2 separate regions of the Homo sapiens genome follow, and region 2 is linked to region 1. The links are contacts of gene promoters, found by promoter capture Hi-C in human tissues and cell types (Jung and others, 2019). All regions are on one chromosome and are shown on one strand. Each heading gives the region's core, a stretch centred on a gene start or on the middle of the fragment in contact. The rest is flanking DNA. Distances are from core to core; before and after follow the strand shown.

Evidence for each region. Contacts are between HindIII fragments. The study calls those that stand out against the background at their distance.
Region 2: a contact is called between the fragment with the promoter of ZBTB8B here and the fragment with the promoter of FNDC5 in region 1, in 4 of the 25 tissues and cell types used here (hippocampus, liver, lymphoblastoid cells and 1 more).

Annotation. Positions count from the first base shown.
Region 1 is chr1:32,869,551-32,873,220 of GRCh38, forward strand. FNDC5 (fibronectin type III domain containing 5) reads right to left here and starts at 1,362. Exons shown (of 6, transcript NM_001441683.1): 1 at 1,103-1,362. The coding sequence starts at 1,340. RefSeq lists an enhancer at 3,130-3,670. The HindIII fragment of the contact is 14,778 bases long and covers 1-3,670 here.
Region 2 is chr1:32,463,636-32,467,219 of GRCh38, forward strand. It overlaps ZBTB8B (zinc finger and BTB domain containing 8B), which reads left to right and starts at 1,437. Exons shown (of 4, transcript NM_001145720.2): 1 at 1,437-1,470. The HindIII fragment of the contact is 24,686 bases long and covers 1-3,584 here.

The DNA.
Region 1 (3,670 bases), core at 112-2,611:
CTGCGGAAGAGTCTGTGTGAGCCTCTTATCCATGCTCTTCCAGCCCCAAGATGCAGGTGGGGAGGTGGCAGGGGAAGATGGGGTCACTCAGAGCAGGGCCCCTCCATGGCGAGTGGAGAGGAGAGAACAGGTAGGGGAAGAGGATGAATGAGGAATCACTCCAGAAGAGACAGGAGGGAAGTGGGGGTGAGAGTGATAGGGATAGTGGGGGTCAGTGAGGAAAACCGTCCAGGAGAGGGGCAGTGCAGTCACATAAGGCTCAGTATCTTCCAAGGGGCAGGTGCAGCACGGGGCAGAGCTGCGCCTGAGCAGCACCCCTCACCCCACAGAGAGTGAACTTGAGACCCAGGGGGCTGGGCCTGGGACCTGAGGGAGACAGAGCCAGACATGGAGGGGGAGGTGGAGAGACAGGACACAGACAGGTGGTGGCAGACACAGAACCAGAGGACAGAGAAGTGGGGCATCTGAGAAAGACAGCTGCGAGAGAGCGCTCCCCGAGCCACGGAGGGAGAGATGAGCCGGGCAGCGGCAGCCAGGAGGGACAAAGACAGAGTGGCAGGAGAGGCTGGGCAAGGACGGGCCGGCCCCATGGGGCAGGCCAGACACTGTACCAGATCAGGGGTGCCGGGGCCCACCCCACGCCCTGCGCCCTCAGGTGCCAGCCCCCATCCCCTTCACACGTGCTCCTGCACAGCGGGACCCCATCTGCCCCTGCAGAGTTGGCTTGCAGGGCTTTGAGAGGTCCTGGGGACACAGAGAGAGGCCCAGGTGGGGGAACTGGTGTCCTCAGCTGCTCCCTGGGTCAAAGAAGGGAGCTAGGGAAGCTGAGGCAAAGACCTGGGGTTAGGGGAATGGGATTAGGGGACTGGGGACCACAAGACCCTAGGAAACCCAGGGCTGAGGTGACAGGGGAGATTTGGAAACTGAAGGACAGGTCTGGGGGTCAAGGAGGTAGGAAGACGCTGGGGGCTGGGTTAGGGGAGCAGTGTTTGGGCCGAGACAGGAGTCCCTAGGGGGCAGAGAAAGGACCAGGGGACTCCCAGGTAGCTGGGCTCGAGAGGAGCCTGCCCCGGCGCCGGCCCCCCGCCCCGGGCCCCCTTACCCGCCTGCACCAGCGCGAAGCAGACGCAGCCCAGCCACAGGCGGAGCGCGGCGCGGGCGCGGGGCGGCCAGGCGCTCGGCGACCCGGGGTGTATGGTGGCTCCTCCGGCCGGCAGGCCCGGGGCGGCGCAGGGGGACGCGGCTCCGGCGCCCGGCGGCCGCTCGCGCTCGCGCTCCGGCCCCCGGCCCGGCCGGCCCGGCCGCTCCGGCCGCCCTGCGCCGCCCCGAGCCGCCTGCATGTCGGCTCCGCGGACAGCGACTCCCGCGCGGCGGCGGTGGCGGCGGCCGCGTCCACGTCGGGCGCCCGGGGGGCGGGGCGCCCCCGCTGCGGGGAGAGGTGCGGGGGCGGGGTGAGGACCGGAGGGCGCCCCCACTCCCGCCCCCGCTGCCTATTAGGTCCTCTGCCGGGGAGGAAGGGGCTTCGCGGACCCACGGCTCCCGCCCTCTCACCGAGCGGGAGCCCAGCGGGGTTCTCCGCGCCCCCGCCGCGGTCACTCTCTCTCCCGTGCACAGCCCTGACTTGGCTGCCGCTTTCTGCCCTTTCCCAGGGTAGAGAGAGGACAAGTGCCACCGAGATGCCCGTTTGTGCCCCCACCCCTAAGCGCGCCTCCCTTCCCTGGGCCTAGGGATCCCCTCATTCCACGGTAGACCCGAGGCCTTGCGGCTGGGGCAGACGGGAGCAGAGGGGAGAGATCACAGTAAGGCTGGGGTGAGCAGAGAGTGCTAAGTGGACACTAGGGCTCCGTGTTTCCAGTGGGGTTGGGAAGAGGCTGCTCTGTCTCACTGGAGAGTCCAGCTCTGTGACCCCAGGCCAGTCCTTTTCCTTCATTTTCATCCCCATAGTGAGGGCAGTAATGAGCGTCTACCAGGGGCCAGATACTATGCTGAGCTTTCTTTGCATTATGTGGCTTAATTCTCAGGGCAACCCTGTAAAGTCATACTCTGCACACTTTGCACAGGAGGAGCCTGCAGCTTGGACAGGCTACTTGACTTGTCCAGGGACCCGCAGCAGAGCCAGGATTTGAACACAGGCTGATCTGACTCCCAAAGCTGTGCTTAACTGAACTGTCTCCCCACCCAGAGTGACTTCACCCATCCGGAGATTCGTGAGACTCTAGAATTGGCCGGGGCCAGCTCCTCCCCAGCCAGAAAACAGTCTGCAGCAATCTCTAAGAGCATCTCTGAGAAGGGGAGTGGCTCCAGCCCCCTTCCCTCATCTCAGCCAGAGAAACAAGGTGGAGGAGAGAGGCATGGACCAGGGCTCAGGGCCTTTTGTCTCAGCAAGAACCCCTGAGCCCCCTCCCACGACTATCCGAAATTCCACTACTAGCGGGGCATTCCTTTGGGTCTTAAAGGTTTTCCAGAAGCCCTGGAAGGGCTAATTTTCTTTGGAAAGGAGACGTCTTGCAAAGTTCTGCCACAGAAACGTCTTCAGGGTCTTCCTCTCCATCCCCCTGGTTTTACATTAAGGAAGTGAGGTCTACCGATGGGAAGAGCTTGGTGCAGATTCACACAGTGGGTCAAGAGGAGCGATAGACAACCCTCCTCTCCTTATGCCCACCCAGGACTCCTTCGCTGGCCCTGTGTTCCTCCTTGGTCACCTTGGAAGGGGTGAGATGGAAGCGAGCTTAGGGGCTCTTGTTGAGCAGCAGAATTTTCCTGCCCATCCCCTCAGTGCCCCCAGACCTGCCCCACTCGGCAGGGTGACACTGCCCAGCCCTATCATTTCCCCCGCCACATACCTTGTCCTGGGAGAGCCTCAGCTGGGACCTCGACCCGTTTGGGAGAAGAGCCCCGGAGCCAGAGCACCTCTCTCTCTCTTTTCTCTTTGCTCTCTTTCTCTTTCTCTCCCCTTATTATCTTCTCTCTCTTTCTCCCCGCAGCTGCTGCCTGCCCCACCCCACCCGGCCCCGCCCCACCAGCTGCAGCTTAGCCCCTAGGGACCCCCCACCCCCCATCCATCAGACAGGAAGACAACCAGGAGGCCCGCAGGAGCAACTGGAGCCTCTTCAGGCCTCCAGCACAGGAACCAGCAGGAAGGAGAGGGTTCAGTTAGAGGACACAGAATCTACTCCCGTCCCTGCAGGGGAGAAAAGGAGGGAGGGTCCTGGTGGGGTCTTGGCCTCCAGTCCAGCGCTGGGGAAAGGGGAACCTTGGCGCCATCTGCTGGCCTCTTTGGGTAAAACCTAGATAGATGTAGGGCATTGGGAGGGAGGAGATGGCAGTGCCTGAGGGCTTGAGAGAGAAGGCGGCTGAAGGAGGGGGCTTGGAGGATTTGGAGAGTTGTGACTGTGGGGGTACAGCCTTCTCAGTCCTCATGATGCATGGGGTGCTTGGGCCTTAATTCTGGGGAAAGCCCTGGTGCCTGGAATCTGGCAGCCAGTGAGAGCTGGCTGGGAGGATTTAGTGGAGCCCTGGGTGAACTTGGGAGGGAGCTGTCAGAAGCAGCCACTGCAGGCCAGGGCGCTGGCTCACGCCTGTAATCCCAGCACTGTGGGAGTCCGAGGTGGGTGGATCACCTGAGGTCAGGAGTTCGAGACCAGCCTGGCCAACATGGTGAAACCCCGTC
Region 2 (3,584 bases), core at 187-2,686, 410 kb before region 1:
TAGCATGGCTCACTACTCCTCATTAGGGTCTCTCAGCGAAGGGGGTAGCCTTTTTTTTTTTTTTTTTTTTTTTTGAGACAGAGTCTTGCTCTGCTGCCCAGGCTGGAGTGCAGTGGCCAGATCTCCACTCACTGCAATCTCTTTGGTTCAAGCATTCTCCTGCCTCAGCCTCCCAAGTAGCTGGGATTACTGGCCCACGCCCGGCTAATTTTTGTATTTTTAGTAGAGATGGGGTTTCACCATGTTGGCCAGGCTGGTCTCGGACTCCTGACCTCAGGTGATCCACCCGCCACCACTCCAGCCTGGGCAACAGAGTCTGAGACTCCGTCTCAAAAAAAAAAAAAAAAAAAAAAAAAAAGTCATACTGGCATAGAGTGAACCCCTAATCCAATATGACTGGTATCCTTATAAAAATACTTTTTTTTTGGAGACGGAGTCTCTCTCTGTCGCCCCAGGCTGGAGTGCAGTGGCGCGATCTCGACTCACTGCAACCAAAAGGAGACATTTTGACATGGAGACATATACAGGGAATATGCCCTGTGAACATGAAGATGGCCATATGCAAGCCCAGGAGAGAAGCCTGGAAGAGACCGTTTCCTCACAGCGCTCAGAAGGAAAGAACCCTGCCAACATCTTGCTTTCAGATGCCCCCAGGATTGTCAGACAATAAGATCTGTTATTGACGCCACCGGGTTGGTGATACTTAGGTACAGCAGCCCTAGCAAACGAATACACCCCCATGAGAACTAAGCTCCCTGAGAGCGGTAAGCTGCCTTGTCTTGCTCACAGCTGACAAGAACACGCCTGTACGGTCACTTAGCACCTAGTACTGCCATTTAACCGTTTCACTAGTATGTATGAACCGGAGAGCCTGTCAAGGGAAGAGCTGAATCTTTTATCTTTTGTAACGACTACCCAGTGAAAGAAACCGCGGGTATGCAATAAAAACCTGTTGAATCGATTAAACCATTTCCCTTATTTCCAGATTTTTGCGGAAAGCGCCAGTAGGTGAAATATGTGCGGACTGATGAGTCAAAGCTCTTATTCCCTGGACTGCATTAATACCCACGACGTGCTTTTCGCTCTCCAGACAAAGAGACCGGTACTTGGCAGGTCCCTCAAGTGGGACTCAAAAGACCGAACCGAGCTGCAGCCTTTCGCTAGCACTGGTCCTCGCCCCTTTTGGCATCTTGGTACTTGTAGTTTTGTCCACTCTATCTTTACCCGAAAAGCCAGCGCTGAGACCACAACTCCCATCACCCTGCGAGCACCAGCGCCTTCAGAGCGCATCCTCCGAGGGGCACCAGCGCCATTGACCACCCTGCTGGCCGAAGGGCCCGCCTTCCCGAGGCCAGGCGCTCCCGCGATTGGCCAGCCGCCCCGCCTCTCATCGGAGGGCGCCAGGTGAATGAAAGGGGGGCGTGTCGGTGCGCGGTGCTCCGTGGCTGCGCTGCTGGAACCCGCTGGAAGGTGAGCGCGAAGAAGCGGGTTGGCGCTGCCGCTTTCGTTGGTTTGGGGAGGATTCCTAGCACCCGGGAGGCTGGCTGGAGATTGGGGTTAGCGGGCAGGGTTGCCCCCACTCAGTCATCCTCCTTCGGACCGCTTGGCCCTGGCAACTCCTGGGACCTCCGCCCCGCGAGCCCTTCTAGCGTGGGGAGGGGCAGGCGCGGCCGTGGGGCCCCAGCTTCCCTGTCATTGGGTGTCCTCCGCGTCGTCCAGCCGGGGGTCGCGGCGCCGACTACTTCCACGGTGAATGGTGCCCAGGCGTGGGGGGCTCGGCCACACTGGAGAAGTGCCAGCGGCAGCGATGGCCACTTTGTCCGCGGGAGGCCATGGGAGGGGCTAGGCCTTGGGGTCCCACCCTCGGGGGCCGTGCCCTGTAGCTGGTTCTGGTGGCCTCTCTGCAGGTCGTCTGATGCTGGACGGGGGAGGGTCTGTCTTGCGAGCAGTTTAGATGCAGTTGACCCTGAAATTCTTCGTATGGAAATGGAAACTTCTCCAGTGTCCTTCTCCTCCGATCCATGCCTAAAAGAAAGGAGTGACTTCCCCAACCTGTCGCATCGTGTCCTGGAGGGTTTGAGGAGGCCGGTTAGCATAGTGGTTAAGGATGTCAACCCGGGAGTCAGTCGGATCTCTGTTCTATTACTAACTTGGTGATGTTATCTGCATCTTTGAATCTCAGTTCCTCCTCTGAAAAAGAGGATGTAGTTAGAGTATCTGTCGTACTGGATTATTGTGAGGTGAAAACTAATGTGCTTGTAAAAGCCAGGCATGGTGGCGCGCACCTGTAGTCCCTGCTACTCGGGAAGCTAAGGTTGGGAGGATCTCTTGAGCCCAGGAGTTCCAGGCTGCATTGAGGTAGGATCGTGCACTCCAACCTGGGCAACCGAGCAAGACCGTGCCTTTTAAAAATTTTAATTTAAAAAGTAAAATGAATATGCTTGTACTTTGTACAGTGTTTTATAAGGAATAGTGCTTAATATTTACTAAAATTGAGGAGCAGGTTTTTGTTATTCTCAGGTTGGTGGGACTGGAGGAGTCTTGTCAGAAAGGGTCGGAGGTGGAATTCAAGGCTGCTTTTGGCCTCTGAACAGAGACAGTTGTGTGATCTGGCTAGGACTCCCTCAAGGGTATATGAGAGTTTGTATTGCAGGTAGTTGTGTTGGCATCTGCTGTCTCCTGGAGGACAGGCACTATACTTGGTTCATTTTTCTATTCCTGGCATCTTCCTTGTGTCAGGCATTGTATGTAGCCGGTAACCGTTGAATTGAGTTGGAACCGTGGGATGGTTGGGAGGTTCCCTGCCAGAGTGCGGATAAATGTGCTTCTGAGAGCAGTCTGCCCTAAGAGCTGCTCTTCTGGGATAAGTGGTGATCCTCAGCACTTCCCGGGGCAGCAGAGCACTTCAGGCAAATGGGGGTGATATAAATAAATATTTACACAATATATACCAAGTACAGGATTGGGGAAAATTTTGAAGAAAATACTATACGGATAGACTTTTGCAACGTCAGGAAGTAGAATAAAAATAATTGCAATAGAATAAAAAATAATTTCAGTAAGAAAGCCAAAAGAAATTGGTTTTAGGTGCTATTTCTGGAAAGGAGGCTTTTCCAGTGAAAGACGGAAGTGCCCTGGGAAGAGCCCCTATAGATCAGACCATACTACAAGTTAAGAAGTGTTGTGCGTACTTACATATTTATCTACCTGGCTTACCAACTCCTTACCCCTCTGCCCTGCCTCCTTTTTTTCTTAGTTAACAAAGAAAAAAGCCAAGGCAGAAGGATCACTTGAGTCCAGGAGTTCAAGACCATTGAGACCAGCCAGGGCAACATAGTGAGACCCCATCTCTACAAAAAAATGTTTTCAGAATTAGCTGAGTGTGGTGCTGCATGCCTGTAGTCACAGCTACTTGGGAGGCTGAGGTAGGAGGATTGCTTGAGCCTGGGAGGTCGAGGCGGCAGTGAACTGTGATCATGGACTGCACTCCAGCCTGGGTAACAAAGTAAGACCCCGTCTCAAAAGAAAAGAAAAGCAATACATGCACATAGTAAAACATTCTATCAGAAAGGTTTAAAATGAAA